Linked DNA regions of Homo sapiens: all the other regions are linked to region 2. Evidence: promoter capture Hi-C in human tissues and cell types (Jung and others, 2019). All regions are on one chromosome and are shown on one strand. The core of a region is centred on a gene start or on the middle of the fragment in contact, and the rest is flanking DNA. Distances in the headings are between cores, read along the strand shown.

Region 1 (4,008 bases), core at 291-2,790, 280 kb after region 2:
AGATTTGTAATAAAATATTTTTTCCTTAAGATTGTTATATAAAGTTTACTAATGAGAAAAACTCCCTTGTCAGTTTATAGTTTAGCTTTGGTTTGAAAATACAGACACTGTAGCACTGCTGTCCAATATGAGCCACATATATTTAAAATTTTCCAACATCTGCCTTAAAAATATAAAAATAAACAAGTGAAGTTAATTTTAATAATATTGTTTCACCCAATGTAAGATACTACCATTTTACATGTAATCCATCCTAAAACTAATAATAAAATGTTTTAGATAGTATTTCTTGTACTAAATCTTCAAAATCTGATGTATATTTTAGACTTACAGCACATATCATTTTAAACTAGCCACGTGTGAAGGCTGTAGTGACATGTGGCCAGTAGATGTTGGCCAGCACAGCTCAAAAGAGTAGTCTATTTCTATGAAAATCCATCAATTTATTCTTTTGGACCTAACATTTGTCCTATCCTCTTTTTTATTTTTTTGAGACAGGGTCTCACTTGGTCAGCCAGGCTGGAGTGCAGTGTCACGATCTCAACTCATTGCAACCCCCACCTCCTAGGCCCAAGCAATTCTCCCACCTCAGCCTCCCGAGTAGCTGGGATTACAGGCACGTGCCACCATGCCTGGCTTATTTATTTATTTATTTTTAAGACGGAGTTTCACTCCTGTTGCACAGGCTGGAGTGCAATGGCGCGATCTCGGCTCACTGCAACCTCTGCCTCCCGGGTTCAAGCGATTCTCCCACCTCAGCCTCCCGAGTAGCTGGGATTACAGGCATGCACCCCCAAGCCCGAGTAATTTTGTGTTTTAGTAGAGATGGGGTTTCTCCCTGTTGGTCAGGCTGATCTCGATCTCTCGACCTCAAGTGATCCGCCCACCTCGGCCTCCCAAAGTGCTGGGATTACAGGCGTGAGCCACCGCGCCCAGCCCCCCATCTTATTAAGAAAATAAATTGTATTTATCTGACACATGTTCTTTAATTAGGCTCTAAGTAAATATTATTCTTTACTCAGCTGTAGAAATATGTGCTGATTGTTTCTGTATTTGTAAAATTAATGTAGTGGCATACTCCACTAAATGTATTAATTTAGTGGAAAGTAGTGAGTTTAGTGGTTTAGTGGAATTAAATGTTAGCATTCCCAAACAGTGAGATACCTATTAAAGGGCAGGTTCTTTTAGATACCATTTTCCTTGATCTTTTTAACAACTTGCAGAAAAGGCCCCAAAACTTAGAAATGTGAATTATTAAAGTTGAGAGCTTAAACAACTAGCCAAGGTGACCCAAATTATATCTGAGCAAGATTCTGAAAGCAGGTATCCTGGCAACAAGTTTGGTGTTCTTTATACAATTTGTTCTCATTATAGGTGCCTATAATGACTCGGATAAAACACAAGTTACGTATTTTCACCTTACCTAGAAATACGTGAATCAAAGAAATAAGCCAGAGAACAGTGTCACTGGAGAATATACTAAGTTACCTTTTCTGTTACTTCCTGAAAAGTAGTGAAACTGACAGAATTAGTTAGTGGAGAAAGAACAAGGCAAATTTACAGGAAACCCTGGACTGCAAGGTCTTTGTTTCTGTCTCATCTGAACTTTCGTGAGACTTTATTTTAGGGCTGGGAGTTTAATGTAATAATATATACTGTAATATATATTAGCAGTAAATACATGTGAGCCAAAGAAAAGTTGTTCCTTATTAGAATATGCTACAAGTCAAATTAAACTGAGTATAAATAAGCTTAATTATAAAATTAGTTTGTGCTAATAAAAATGTAATATGAGCCACATATAATTTTAAATTTTCAGCTTTCAAATGGGATGGAAACATTTCTTTGACCTGACTTTGACCACCACACTCAGTATGGGAGTGCAAATTGTGCTAAACTTAGCTCCCATCCCATGGTGCCAATAACTTCCTATAAGACTGCACTGCTGCCAAGGAAGTGGTGGGCGCCTGTCCTCCACATCTCTGCTCCCACAGCCTTGGAGATGACCCCTGGTCCGCTGCTCCTCCTAACCCCTTCAGCATGGCTCCACTGCAGCGGGTTCCTGTCAGGTGATAAGTTAAAGCAAAGAGAGGAGTAGGCTGCATAAATTGTATACCTCTGTTTATCCATGTTATCCACTGACAATTAGGTTCTTAAAAATTTGTTGACTATTACTAGCAGTGCAGTGAGATGAGCATTCTTGTACATATTTCCTTTTGCCCAGGAAAGCTTTTTCCTGAAGTACGTCTCCAGAAGTGGGATCGTTCGCTCGTGGAGTATTTGCTTCTTAAGCCTTAATAGGCCTTGCAAATGGTGTCAAATAAGGACCTAGTTTTTCCCTCCTACTGTAGATAACCAGTTTTCCCAGAGCCATTGATTGCATCATCCATCTCCCTGCTGATCCACACGACCACATCTGAGGCAGGCAATGTCAGTGTCTGTGGTGTCTGCGTTGGGCCCACTCTGCTGCTCCCTTGTTCTCTGTGTCTGTCCCCGGCACTAGCACCACAGCCTGAATTACTGACACTGGAGAGAGCAAGCCCTCCTCCACGTTGTTTTCTTCAGAGTTATATTAGCTGTTCTTGGTCCTTGATCTTTTGTATAAATTTTGTTGTGTAAATATGATTGTATTTGTAACTATTCTAAAAATGGTGTATATAAATAATTTTTTTTACAATTCAGTGTTTGCAATGCAACATTATAAAAATTACATATAGAAAACTTGTATAAATAAAAATTGTATAAAATCTGGTTGTAAAATTCCATACACACACATACCTTTTGGGATTTAAGTTACATTTGCATTGAATTTCTAGTCTAATTAGGGGAGAATTACTATCCATGATTAAGTCTTTCTTTAGATGACCATGGCCTGTCTCCATTTATTAAGGTCATTTCTGTATTTTGACAAAGGTTTTTATAAGTTCTATAAATCACATTTTTTTTCTTAATTAGATTTTAAAAAATTTTTTTAGAGGGGTGGAGAGGGGACAGAGTCTCACGCTGTTGCTCACGCGGCAGTGCAGTGGCGTGATCTTGGTTCACTGCAGCATCCGCCTCCTGGGTTCAAGCGATTCTCGTGTCTCAGCCCCCCAAGTAGCTGGGACTACAGGCATGCATCACCACACCCGGCTTAGATTTATTTTTAATAGTTTGTTGCTGGTGTTTTGGAAACATAATTGATTGTGTGTATTGGTTTTATTTCCAGAAAACTTACTGAACTTTTTAATTAGTTCTAATAGTGTGTCCATACATCCTCCTGGATTTTCTTCCAGCACAGTTATATTGTCTGTGAATACTGGCAGTTTTGGTTCATTTTCAATTCTGGTAACTTTCTTTTCTTGCCATACTGCCCTGGCTTATATTCCTAGTTGCTATTAGGAATGGGTTAATTAGTTGAGATTCTTCATTTGAATTTTTTTTTTTTTGGAGATGGAGTCTTGCTCTGTTGCCCAGGCTGGAGTGCAGTGGCACCATCTTGTTTCACTGCAACCTCCACCTCCCGGGTTCAAGCAATCCTCCTGCCTCAGCCTCCCAAGTAGCTGGGAGTACAGGCATGTGCCACCATGCCCGGCTAATGTTTGTATGTTTAGTAGAGACGGAGTTTCGCCATATTGGCCAGGCTGGTCTCGAACTCTTGACCTCAGGTATCTGCCTGCCTCAGCCTCCCAAAGTGCTGGGATTACAGGCACGAGCCACCGTGCCCAGCCTATTTGAATCTTTTGAAATGATCAAATTATCTTTGCCCCTCATGCTGTTAATGTGGCGAGTAACTTTACTCTGTTTTTCTAATATTGTACCCCCCCACATTACTGGATTAAACTTCATCGTGATAATATTTGTTTTTCTATTTCTGGGTCAGTTTGCAAGATTGTTTCAGGCTTTGGCTTTTAAATACCTAGGTGAGATTCACCTACTCCTTTGTCTGTGATGAGTCCAAGCCCCCTAGCTTTGTGTGGGAGATAATCTCTGAAAGCTTCCTTACAAAAGCATTTGGAGACCCGCCTT
Region 2 (3,999 bases), core at 754-3,253:
CAGCAGGCGGCGGATCTCATGGAGCCCCACCAACCCCCTAGCTCCCACCCAGAGACCTCTCCCTCCTTCTGAACTTCTCAGATGGGACTCCACCTCCTCCTGGAGGCTCTGTGCTGGTCCCCATGGATTCTGTCTGCACCCCACACACACTCCTGGGCAGGCCAGGTCTACACAGCTTTGCTCTCTGGGCCCAGCCCACCACGTAAGGGCAGGGGCCACCTAGAGCCCATGCCAGCGCCAGCCTGAGAGGAGGCAGCGTGTCCCCTCACGGGGTCGTGCCCTCCGACTCCAACCCCCTGCCTGGAGAGCCACCGATTCAGTTTCACCTATGCTGTCACCTCCCCTTCCCGGGCTCAGCCACAGGCGCCCCATGTGCCCTCTTCGGGCATCACATAAACATTCCCAGGTGACGGCCACAGCCCAGCTGTGGTGAGGGGACTGGACAGTCACAGTGGGGCTGGTCCCTCCCTCTTGGGTCCAGACCTTGGAGACGGTGGGGGCAGCCAGTGGACCGTGTGTGACCCCAGAACCGAGCACCCCCAGATGTCCTCACAGCACCAACGAATACTGAGGTTTTGGCTACCCAGCCCGGTGGGCGCAGTTTCCAATGGGGGGGCCTCGGAGGCCTCGGAATCCAGAGGGCAGCGGGCGGGATCTCGGCCAGTAACAGCAAGAATCTGTTTTCCAAAATAAACATCGGGACACGTGCTCCTACAAAGGGTTTCTGTGCCCAGCTGAGAACAAGGGTCACTGTGGAAGCTTAGCCACCCACTAATAGATTATTCTTTCTGGAGCTTTCTATTGTTTATGGCCAGCATGACTGAAATCTGGGCTGAGCAGGCAGCTGATGGGGGGGCCTGTGGCGTGGGAGGCCTGAGAGGGCAGATCCGGGAGCACCCGCCTGGGTGGCCCTGTCCCGAGCGCCTGGCCGTCCCAGGCAGGGGGTGGGCGCCCCTGGGCCGGACCCCCATCTCGGCCTCGGAGGGAGGCTGCGGCCCAGCAGGGGAGGAGGCGCAGCTGGGGATCCCACCAGGGCGCACTCACCCAGGCGCAGCAGCACCGCGCACACCTCAGCCAGGCGTCCCGGGACCGGCGCGGCACGCTCGGGCGCGCTCCAGGAGAGGCCGGCGCGCAGCAGCCGCGCGTGCACGTACTCCCGGCCCAGCGCCTTGGCCTGGGCCACCAGCTCCTTGTCTGTGGGCGAGCGGTCAAAGGCGTCCATGATCTCGGCGGCGAAGACCGAGGAGCGCCGCAGCACCTCCATGGCGGCGACGCGGGTGGGGGGCGCCGCACCTGCGGGCACAAGCGCTCAGCCGGGTGGAGGGAGGCGGCGCGGGGAACGGGGCGCGCGGGGCGCCGGGCTGGGCGTGGCCCTCGGGAAGGGCCGTAGCCGGCGCCGGGTCCGCTCTCGTTTTTTGTGCCCCAAATCTTTAAAAACCCAGCGCCACCTTCTTTCAGAGCCCGAATTCAGCTACAGACATTCCCCGAGGCTGCCAGGGACCGGTGGGGCCGCGGGGAGACGGCGGTTTGCTCCGGGGCCGCCGGGCCCGCCCTCGAAGACGAGTGCGTGGGCGGCGGGGGCGGAGGGCACAGCCCAGCGCGTCCCCCACGGCGACTGCCAGGACCCGGCCCTCCCCGCCCCGGCCCGGGGCCGCCCACCTCCGCCGCTGGCGTCCTGCGCGCGTGTCCCCGGCCTCGCCGTTCCCGTGGCACCCCGGGCACCCCGGCACGGACGCCACGCCCGCCGCGCTCACCTCTCCCGCCGCATGGCGCGGGCGCCGGGGTGGAGTTCTGGCTTCAGGATCTGCTCGCCGCCGACGACGACCTCGACCCTTCCATTCAGACCCGCGAGGACGCGCGCCCCGCCCCGGCGCCCGCCCCGTCCACGCCCGAGCCGGGAGCGCCAGGTCCACGGGGCTTCCCGCGCTCTTGGGGGGCTCCTGCCGCGGCGTCGGGGGCCTGGGCAGCGAGGTGGGCAGCGCGCGACTCCCAGCTGGCGAGAGGCTGGGCTTGGGGCTTGGCCTTCTAAGGGAAAGGCAACCCTGGGGGCGGAGTCGGGGAGACGCTTTCCGAGCTTCCCCGCTTAAGGAGGACCGAGCGAGTTCCCTGGATGCGCCCGGAGAAGGCGACCAGGCCGGAGCGGCCCCCGCAAGGCAGAGCAGTGGGGACCTAGAGCCAGCCCCAGCCGCCTGGGTGTTCCCCGGGGTCCATTTGAAAATTGGGTTGTCTTCTTCGTTCGTAGAGGTTCTTTCCAGAGTCTGGAGACGTGTTCTTGGTCCGGACGCATGCCCTTTGTATTGTAGATGGATTATTGGATTCGCATTTATTGAAGTTATTGCAAATATCTTCCTCTATTTTGTGGTTTACTTTTGCTTTGGATGAACAGGAGTTACTCTTAGTGATGTCCAATTTATCAATATTTTCTTTATGGTTAGTACCTTTTTATTGGGATATCCTCCTGTATTTCCTTTTAGAAGCTTGTTTTAGGGCTCATATTTAGATCTATGATTGATTACATATTAATTATTGTGAATGGTGTGGTACGGGGCTAGAGCTCATTTTTTTTCGTGTAGATATCCAATTGACCTGGCATCATTTATTGAAAAGCATCATTTTTTTTCCACCGAATTGGAGGAGTCCCCAACATCTCAACATAAATCAGCTGAAGAGTGTGTGTGTGTGTGTGTGTGTGTCTCGGAACTCTATCCCACTGGTTTATTTCTTTATCCTTGAATCAACCTCACACAGTTTGAACAATAGGATTAACCAACTTGGCCTAATTCACGTGTGTACAACACTATAAAATACTTATTCTTCCCATGTGCACATAGGATGTTTATCGAAATAGACCATATCATGGACCTTATACAAGTCTCAGCAAATCTCAACGGATTGAAATCTTACAGTGTGTCCTCTCTGAATTAAAAGTCAATAACAGAAAAATTACTGGAAAATCTGCAAATGCTTGGAAATTACATGTCACACTTCTAAATAATCAATGGGTCAATAATCACAGTGGAAGATTAAAATATGTTGACAAGAACAGTGAAAAATAAGACATATCAAATGCTGTACAGTGCAACTAAAACACTGCTTAGAGGAAATTTGATAGCTTTAGAAGAAGGATTGAAAATTAGGCCAGGTGAAATGACTCAGACCTGTAATCCCAGCATTTTGGGAGGCCTAGGTGGGCAGATCACCTGAGCTCAGGAGTTTGAGACCAGCCGGGTCAAAATGGTGAAAACCCCGTCTCTACTAGAGATACAAAAAATGAGTTGGGTGTGGTGGCAGGTGTCTGTAATCCCAGCTACTAAGGAGGCTGAGGCAGGAGAATTGCTTGAACCTGGGAGGCGAAGGTTGCAGTGAGCAGAGATCATCCCACCTGCACTCCAGCCTGGACAACAGAGTGTGATTCCATCTCAAAAAAAAAAAAAAAAAAGGAAAAAGAAAAATAAAATTACTGCTCTAAGCTTCCACTCAAGAAGCTAGAAAAGAACAATAAAACTAAAGATGAAAGGAAATAATAAAAATAAGAGCAGAAATTAATGGAATAAAGCAAAAAATAGAGAAAATCAACAAAGCCAAAAATTGGTTCTTTGAAGAGATTAATAGAACTGATAAATCCCCAGAAAGATTGAGTAAGAAAAAAGATAACACAAATTTCACTATCAAGAATGAAAAAGAGGACATCACTGTAGATACTACAAGCATTAAAGGGATAAAAAGATAGTATGGAGGACTTTTTGACAGTGCATTTGAAATTTTAGATGATACACAACTTACCAAAACTGACACTAAAAGAAATAGAAAATCTGGATAGTCCTACACCAATTAAATGCATTGAATCTGTAATTTAAAATCTTCCCACAAAGAAAATTCTAGGTTCAGATGGTTTCATTGAGAAATTCTTCTCAACAGTTAAAAAAATACCACCAGTCTCATACAAACCTGCACAGAGACTAAAAATGAGGGAGTATTTCCCAACTCATTTTATGAGGT
Region 3 (3,850 bases), core at 1,107-3,606, 350 kb after region 2:
TCCACCTGTCAGACTGGGAGCACTCCTGTCTACCTGTGTCAGCCTGGGAGCACTCCTGTCCACCTGTCAGCCTGGGAGCACTCCTGTCCACCTGTGTCAGCCTGGGAGCACTCCTGCCCACCTGTGTCAGGCTGGGAGCATTCCTGCCCACCTGTCAGCCTGGGAGCACTCCTGTCCACCTGTCAGACTGGGAGCACTCCTGTCCACTTGTGTCAACCTGGGAGCACTCCTGTCCACCTGTCAGCCTTGGAGCACTCCTGTCCACCTGTGTCAGGCTGGGAGCACTCCTGCCCACCTGTGTCAGGCTGGGAGCACTCCTGTCCACCTGTGTCAGCCTGGGAGCACTCCTGTCCACCTGTCAGGCTGGGAGCACTCCTGTCCACCTATGTCAGCCTGGGAGCACTCCTGTCCACCTGTGTCAGCCTGGTAGCACTCCTGCCCACCTGTGTCTGGCTGGGAGCACTCCTGCCCACCTGTCAGCCTGGGAGCACTCCTGTCCACCTGTCAGCCTGGGAGCACTCCTGTCCACCTGTCAGACTGGGAGCACTCCTGTCCACCTGTCAGCCTGGGAGCACTCCTGTCCACTTGTCAGACTGGGAACACTCCTGTCCACCTGTGTCAGCCTTGGAGCACTCCTGTCCACCTGTGTCAGGCTGGGAGCACTCCTGCCCACCTGTGTCAGGCTGGGAGCACTCCTGTCCACCTGTGTCAGCCTGGGAGCACTCCTGTCCACCTGTCAGACTGGGAGCACTCCTGACCACCTGTGTCAGCCTGGGAGCACTCCTGTCCACCTGTCAGCCTGGGAGCACTCCTGTCCACCTGTCAGACTGGGAGCACTCCTGTCTACCTGTGTCAGCCTGGGAGCACTCCTGTCCACCTGTCAGCCTGGGAGCACTCCTGTCCACCTGTGTCAGCCTGGGAGCACTCCTGCCCACCTGTGTCAGGCTGGGAGCATTCCTGCCCAGCTGTCAGCCTGGGAGCACTCCTGTCCACCTGTCAGACTGGGAGCACTCCTGTCCACTTGTGTCAACCTGGGAGCACTCCTGTCCACCTGTCAGCCTTGGAGCACTCCTGTCCACCTGTGTCAGGCTGGGAGCACTCCTGCCCACCTGTGTCAGGCTGGGAGCACTCCTGTCCACCTGTGTCAGCCTGGGAGCACTCCTGTCCACCTGTCAGGCTGGGAGCACTCCTGTCCACCTATGTCAGCCTGGGAGCACTCCTGTCCACCTGTGTCAGCCTGGTAGCACTCCTGCCCACCTGTGTCAGGCTGGGAGCACTCCTGCCCACCTGTCAGCCTGGGAGCACTCCTGTCCACCTGTCAGACTGGGAGCACTCCTGTCCACCTGTCAGACTGGGAGCACTCCTGTCCACCTGTCAGCCTGGGAGCACTCCTGTCCACTTGTCAGACTGGGAACACTCCTGTCCACCTGTGTCAGCCTTGGAGCACTCCTGTCCACCTGTGTCAGGCTGGGAGCACTCCTGCCCACCTGTGTCAGGCTGGGAGCACTCCTGTCCACCTGTGTCAGCCTGGGAGCACTCCTGTCCACCTGTCAGACTGGGAGCACTCCTGTCCACCTGTGTCAGCCTTGGAGCACTCCTGTCCACCTGTCAGACTGGGAGCACTCCTGTCCACCTGTGTCAGCCTTGGAGCACTCTTATCCACCTGTGTCAGCCTGAGAGCACACCTGTCTACCTGTTTCAGCCTGAGAGCAGTCCTAGCTACCTGTCAGCCTGGGAGCACTCCTGTCCACCTATCAGCCTGGGAGCACTCCTGACCACCTGTCAGCCTGGGAGCACTCCTATCCACCGGTGCCAGCCTGGGAGCACTCCTGACTACCTGTCAGCCTGGGAGCGCCCCGTCTGCCTGTCAGTCTGGGAGTGCTCCTGACCACCTGTCAGTTTGGGAGCACTCCTGTCCACCTGTCAGCCTGGGAGCACTCCTGTCCACCTGTCAGCCTGGGAGCACTCCTGTCCACCTGCCAGCCTTTCAGCCATGTCCACAAGGCCCTCTGTGACACTCCTGAAGACAGGCATGTGCTCACCTCACACCTCAATCACCTCAAGCACCAGCTGTCTGCACAGGACCTAGCACCTAGGGGTCCCCCCGCCCCACACCCATCTGGAGGCCCAGCACCAGGCCCCAGAGCTGCGGAGAGGGAACACTCACGTGGGTATGTCTGAGAACACCAGGAAGCAGCCCACCAGGAACACCAGTGTGCCCACCACTGCCGCTGGCAGGAGCCAGCCTGTGTAAAACCCTGTAGAGAGGATGGCAGGGGTCCACCATCAGGAACCCAGGCTTGGGGGCCCCAGGTAGGGGTCTGCACAGCCATGCTTGTCCCCTAGGGACCACCCTCAGCCCAGCTTGGGGGCTGGGGCCCTATGTGAGGAGGCCAAGAGGTACACAGCTCTCCCTGGCAGCTCTGGCACGGCCCACCCTCCTGGGCCTCTGCCCTAGACTCTGGACACCCCTACCACATTGACCCCAACACCAGTGCTGCTGGGGCTCCAGCCCACCAGGCTCTCCACCTCTGGATGCCTTCTCCTCAGCCAGCTCACTCCAACCAACCTGCCCGGGACGGACAGAGAAGTCCCTCTACATCCTGCCCACCACAGAGCTGTGGGCCCACCCGTGTTCCAGCCCCAGGGAAACCACGAGTCATTCCGGGTACCTCCCTCCCCACCACCCAACCCCCACCCTGGCCCCTGCCTCATCTGACCACAGCCGCAATCCCTCAGTTACCCCAGGCCCTCAGCATGTACCCCCACTGCCTCCCATAGGGCTAGTCCAGTCCCAGGCCTGGTGTCCTGTCTCCTGCCTGACTCTCTGCTGGCCAAAGTGACTGCTGTGAAACGCAAGTCTGCCTGGAGCCCAGATCCAGCCCTGGCCCTGCTTGCCCCCAGAAGCCCCCAGCCTGGCCGTGCTGTCCCAGGGTTGCTGCTCCAGGTCCTGAGATGGCCGGGTGAGTCCTGGCACACAGGAGCTGTCCCTCTGCCCCGATGCTGTGCCCCGGCTGCCCTTCCATGCCTGCCGGCCCCGCCCGCTGCCCTGGCTGGCTCTATTGTCTGGGTCCACGGTGGGGCTGTGTGTGCGGATGAGAAAGGGCTTTGGAAGTTCTGGGGCACAGAATGAAGGGGTTGGGTCTGACCCAGGATGGGGAAGGGAGGGTGCCAAGAGCTGAGTGGGGTGAGGGCAGCCAGGACCCAGGAGGAACAGCTCTGGGGTTGCCTGGGGCAGATGGCCTGCTTGGAGGAGATGAGAGGCTTGGCCTGGACCCAGGCAGGGGCGACCTCCCTAGGATGGAAGTTCCTGGGGTTGCCCCAGGGCCTCATGGGCCAGTGACATTCGGGGAGGGAGTCAGGAGAGACCCCCACCAGCAGAAGCGGCTCTCAGCACTGTTACTGGAGCATTAGGAGGCCAGGGCCCGGCATCGTCATGGCGCCCAGTTAGAGTGAGTGGGCTTGAGGGGAGCCAGGAGGGCAGCCCGGTCGAGCCAAGAGCTGCGCCCACCGTCCAGGCCCCCACGCACGCTGCCCTCCAGGGGTACGGACTGGCAAATTGTTACAACCTGACACCAAGCTGGGGGGGCCCAGGTGGTCTGGGGGGCAGCGGGGGGGACTCACCGAGCCAGGCGAAGTAGAGGGCCACCTTCTCCCCGAAGTACCTGCGCACGTGGTCCAGGGGCTGGTACTTGTTCCACTTGCCCCAGCGCGCCCAGTGCTGGAAAAGGACTTGGCGCTGGTTGAGGCGTGGAGCCTGCGGGCCCTCTGGGGGCGTCTTGAAGGGGCCCTGGGGGCGAGCGGCCTGTGGGTGGGAGGCTCCCCCAGCTGACCCCACTGGGCACTGTTG
Region 4 (3,893 bases), core at 1,018-3,517, 300 kb before region 2:
GTTTGGGGGAGGGTGTCAATAAGTGGTCTGGAGTGTGATATTGGGGTGCAGGCTCCATGAGTCCCCACCCCACACCTGAGCCCTGGGACCGCCTATCTGCTTCGGGGTGGGGTCCCAGGACCCTGTAGGTTCAGCCTACTAGTCCAGGCCCAATGCCCAATGCCTGCATCCCTGCAGGCCCTGTGCTCTCCAGGCTCAGACCCCTCGCAGCCCTGCAGACCCTCCCTGGGTCCATGTGTCTCTTTGCAGGTGCTCCAGCGAGTAGCAATGTGGAGAGACCATCAGGCAGCCCTGGCCTCAGTGGCCGCAGTCCCCTGGCTCCACGCTGGGCCCACCCCACCAGGTCTCCTCTCCCATGGCCCAGGGGCCTTCAGTGGGACTGAGAGGAGGAGGGAAGGAGAGTGGGTGACAGGGAAGAACTGCAGGGAGAGAGGAGAGGGGTGGGAGAAGGAGAAGGAAGGAAGGGGTAGGATGGAAGCTGGGTTTCTCCCTGTGCCCGCCCCCTACTCCAGGACATGTGTCCAAGCCCTGGCAGGTGGAATTTTGGGGGCAGGGCCTTGGTGGTGAGGAGACCTTCCAGGGGTCTGATAGCATCTCCCATCTCAGAGCCCACCTCCTGGGCCCAGCCTCCCCTCCAGCCCACACAGTGGCATTCCCAGTCCTCAGAGGACAGCTTCGTCCCACAAAGCTCAGAGCCTTGAGGAAGGCCCACTGCTGCCCTGGAACAGAGACAGCATTCAACAGAGGTTGGAACAAGGCTCTACAGGGCTGGGGGCAGAGGGAGGTTCTGTCCAGAATCTGCCTTCAGGACAAGTACAGCCAGCAGGGGCAGCTTAGCCACTTATCCACTGCCTGGGCGAGGCACAGGGCTATGGAGGCACCTACCAACCAACAGTTCTCCAGCCCCAGAGCCCCAGCCCCTGAGGCACAAGGGTGGGTGTGCCAGGAGACAGTTGCTGCGGGCCACCTTAGCTGTCTGGCAGCACAGTGGGTGCTGCCAGGCTCCCTGGGGGCCCCCCGCCAAGCCCACCTGGCCAGCTGGGCCCCCCCCACCTCCCCACCAAGCCACCCACACAGCCTCACATCTCTGAGACCCGGGAGTGGCCCTTTGTTCATAAACGAGAGCTTCCTCGCCGTGGCCGCGCCTCGCAGACATCATCTTTGATGCTCTTTTTCCACTGTTTCGGTGCTTTAATGTTTTCCCTTCAGAGCCGGGCCGAGTGTCTCTCGGAGCCAGGCAGCCGCGCCAGCTGTCAGGCGGTTTCTAGCCTCGCTTCGGTTATTTTAAGCTGATGAGCCTGACGCATCTCATCACTAATATCAGCAGTTTCATTTCTCCTGTTTTCCATTCGCTGTAATAAAATGCTCAGCACAGAATACAAGGAGATAAGCAAGCCATTTCACAAACGCCGGGCCGCCAGCCAGGCCCAGGCACTGGACCCCCTGAACCACCCCACCCTGGCACGAGTGGGCTGGAGGGCAGGGCCCCGGGGAAGAAGGTCAAGGCTGGAAGGGGAGGTCAGCCTCACAGCCAGCCCCTGCCACCGCCCCAGCCCCCCCGTCAGGCTGTTGCAGGCATCACACGGTGGAAAGATCTGGAACTGTGGCCATGGTGTGAGGCCATCCACAAGGTGGAAGCTTTGAGGGGGAGCCGATTAGCCATGGACAGTTGTCATTCAGTAGGGTCACCTGTGCCCCAGCGAAGGGGGATGGGCCGGGAAGGCAGAGGCCAGGCACCTGCCCCCAGCAGGGGCAGAGGCTGTGGGCAGCCGGGAGGCTCCCAGAGGCTCCGACAGAATGGGAGTGGGGTTGAGCCCACCCCTCACTGCAGCCCAGGAACCTGAGCCCAGAGGGGGCCACCCACCTTCCCCAGGCAGGGAGGCCCGGCCCCCAGGGAGATGGGGGGGATGGGGGAGGAGAAGGGCCTGCCCCCACCCGGCAGCCTCAGGAGGGGCAGCTCGGGCGGGATATGGAAAGAGGCCACAGCAGTGAGCAGAGACACAGAGGAGGAAGGGGCCCTGAGCTGGGGAGACCCCCACGGGGTAGGGCGTGGGGGCCACGGGCCCACCTCCTCCCCATCTCCTCTGTCTCCCTGTCTCTGTCTCTCTCTCCCTCCCCCACCCTCTCCCCAGTCCTACCCCCTCCTCACCCCTCCTCCCCCAGCACTGCCTCTGTCACTCTCGCCCACGTGGATGTGGAGGAAGAGGGGGCGGGAGCAAGGGGCGGGCACCCTCCCTTCAACCTGACCTGGGACAGTTTCCCTTCCGCTCACCTCCGCCTGAGCAGTGGAGAAGGCGGCACTCTGGTGGGGCTGCTCCAGGCATGCAGATCCCACAGGCGCCCTGGCCAGTCGTCTGGGCGGTGCTACAACTGGGCTGGCGGCCAGGATGGTTCTTAGGTAGGTGGGGTCGGCGGTCAGGTGTCCCAGAGCCAGGGGTCTGGAGGGACCTTCCACCCTCAGTCCCTGGCAGGTCGGGGGGTGCTGAGGCGGGCCTGGCCCTGGCAGCCCAGGGGTCCCGGAGCGAGGGGTCTGGAGGGACCTTTCACTCTCAGTCCCTGGCAGGTCGGGGGGTGCTGTGGCAGGCCCAGCCTTGGCCCCCAGCTCTGCCCCTTACCCTGAGCTGTGTGGCTTTGGGCAGCTCGAACTCCTGGGTTCCTCTCTGGGCCCCAACTCCTCCCCTGGCCCAAGTCCCCTCTTTGCTCCTGGGCAGGCAGGACCTCTGTCCCCTCTCAGCCGGTCCTTGGGGCTGCGTGTTTCTGTAGAATGACGGGTCAGGCTGGCCAGAACCCCAAACCTTGGCCGTGGGGAGTCTGCGTGGCGGCTCTGCCTTGCCCAGGCATCCTTGGTCCTCACTCGAGTTTTCCTAAGGATGGGATGAGCCCCATGTGGGACTAACCTTGGCTTTACGACGTCAAAGTTTAGATGAGCTGGTGATATTTTTCTCATTATATCCAAAGTGTACCTGTTCGAGTGAGGACAGTTCTTCTGTCTCCAGGATCCCTCCTGGGTGGGGATTGTGCCCGCCTGGGTCTCTGCCCAGATTCCAGGGCTCTCCCCGAGCCCTGTTCAGACCATCCGTGGGGGAGGCCTTGGCCTCACTCTCCCGGATCGAGGAGAGAGGGAGCCTCTTCCTGGGCTGCCCGTGACCCTGGGCCCTCTGTGTACACTGTGACCACAGCCCGCTCCTGGACCCTCTGTGCCCGGCTGGCCCTCTGTGCCCAGCCAGCCTGCACCTGGGGATGCCAAGGCCTGGGGAGGGTGGTTTCACCCAGGCCAAGCCTAAGACAGTCCCTCTGGGCCCTGCTGGGTACCGGGGTGTGACACCACTGGGAGGACAAGATGAGGGGCACCCCTGGGGCCGCCCTGACACCCCCTCGAGGCTCCTGCCCCGGGGGTCCTGGTGCCCCTTCACTGTGGCAGGCGACTGGGGGTTCCCCACCTCGGCCCCTCTCCCGGGGCCTGCTCCCCGGCACCTGAGGCAGCATCCTTGTCAGGGCCGTGCCTTCCTGCCTCAGCGCCACCTCTTAAGGTTGGCCCGTGGGTCACTCAGGACTCAGAACTGGAGATTCTGGGCAAAAGGCAAAGAGCAAAGGGCCAAAAGGCATCCCAGGGAGACGACTGCGGGGGAACCAGAGGGCAGAGGGGCGCTCGTCACAGGGGAGGGGGAGCTGAGCGAGGCAGGAGGGGAGCCGAGCCTCTCCCCCCGTGTCCCGGCTCTTCAGGCACGCCCTCGGGACGCCACCCTCCCCGACCCAGGCGGGAAAGATAAGAGCAAGGTGTCCGCAGCCTGACACTCGTGCCTCAGGTGCCCGCGCTTGTGCCGGACAAGACTCTCACAGGTGGCATGCCTCGGTTTCCCCACTGGTAACAGCACAGGGCACTCAGCAAGGCG

Evidence for each region. Contacts are between HindIII fragments. The study calls those that stand out against the background at their distance.
Region 1: a contact is called between a fragment that was not itself captured here and the fragment with the promoter of BOK in region 2, in 3 of the 25 tissues and cell types used here (dorsolateral prefrontal cortex, hippocampus and mesenchymal stem cells).
Region 3: a contact is called between a fragment that was not itself captured here and the fragment with the promoter of BOK in region 2, in 1 of the 25 tissues and cell types used here (lymphoblastoid cells).
Region 4: the fragment with the promoter of PDCD1 here is called in contact with the fragment with the promoter of BOK in region 2 in 1 of the 25 tissues and cell types used here (heart left ventricle).

What each region holds. Positions count from the first base shown.
Region 1 is chr2:241,278,004-241,282,011 of GRCh38, reverse strand. All of the region lies in intron 1 of HDLBP (high density lipoprotein binding protein), which reads left to right. Among named protein-coding and RNA genes, the nearest start is that of HDLBP-AS1, 7.8 kb to the right of the region's middle. RefSeq lists an enhancer at 278-778. The HindIII fragment of the contact is 3,126 bases long and covers 1-3,103 here.
Region 2 is chr2:241,556,749-241,560,747 of GRCh38, reverse strand. BOK (BCL2 family apoptosis regulator BOK) reads right to left here and starts at 2,003. Exons shown (of 5, transcript NM_032515.5): 1 at 1,755-2,003; 2 at 1,045-1,293. The coding sequence starts at 1,264. BOK-AS1 (BOK antisense RNA 1) reads left to right here and starts at 1,605. Exons shown (of 2, transcript NR_033346.1): 1 at 1,605-1,971. RefSeq lists silencers at 981-1,110, 1,161-1,230, 1,261-1,340. The HindIII fragment of the contact is 1,356 bases long and covers 1,619-2,974 here.
Region 3 is chr2:241,203,273-241,207,122 of GRCh38, reverse strand. It overlaps ANO7 (anoctamin 7), which reads right to left. Exons shown (of 25, transcript NM_001370694.2): 9 at 3,625-3,790; 10 at 2,168-2,258. Among named protein-coding and RNA genes, the nearest start is that of ANO7, 17 kb to the right of the region's middle. The HindIII fragment of the contact is 6,060 bases long and covers 1-3,850 here.
Region 4 is chr2:241,857,268-241,861,160 of GRCh38, reverse strand. PDCD1 (programmed cell death 1) reads left to right here and starts at 2,267. Exons shown (of 5, transcript NM_005018.3): 1 at 2,267-2,398. The coding sequence starts at 2,323. LOC124908032 (a long non-coding RNA gene) reads right to left here and starts at 2,089. Exons shown (of 2, transcript XR_007088436.1): 1 at 1,084-2,089. RefSeq lists an enhancer at 2,099-3,061. The HindIII fragment of the contact is 28,999 bases long and covers 1-3,893 here.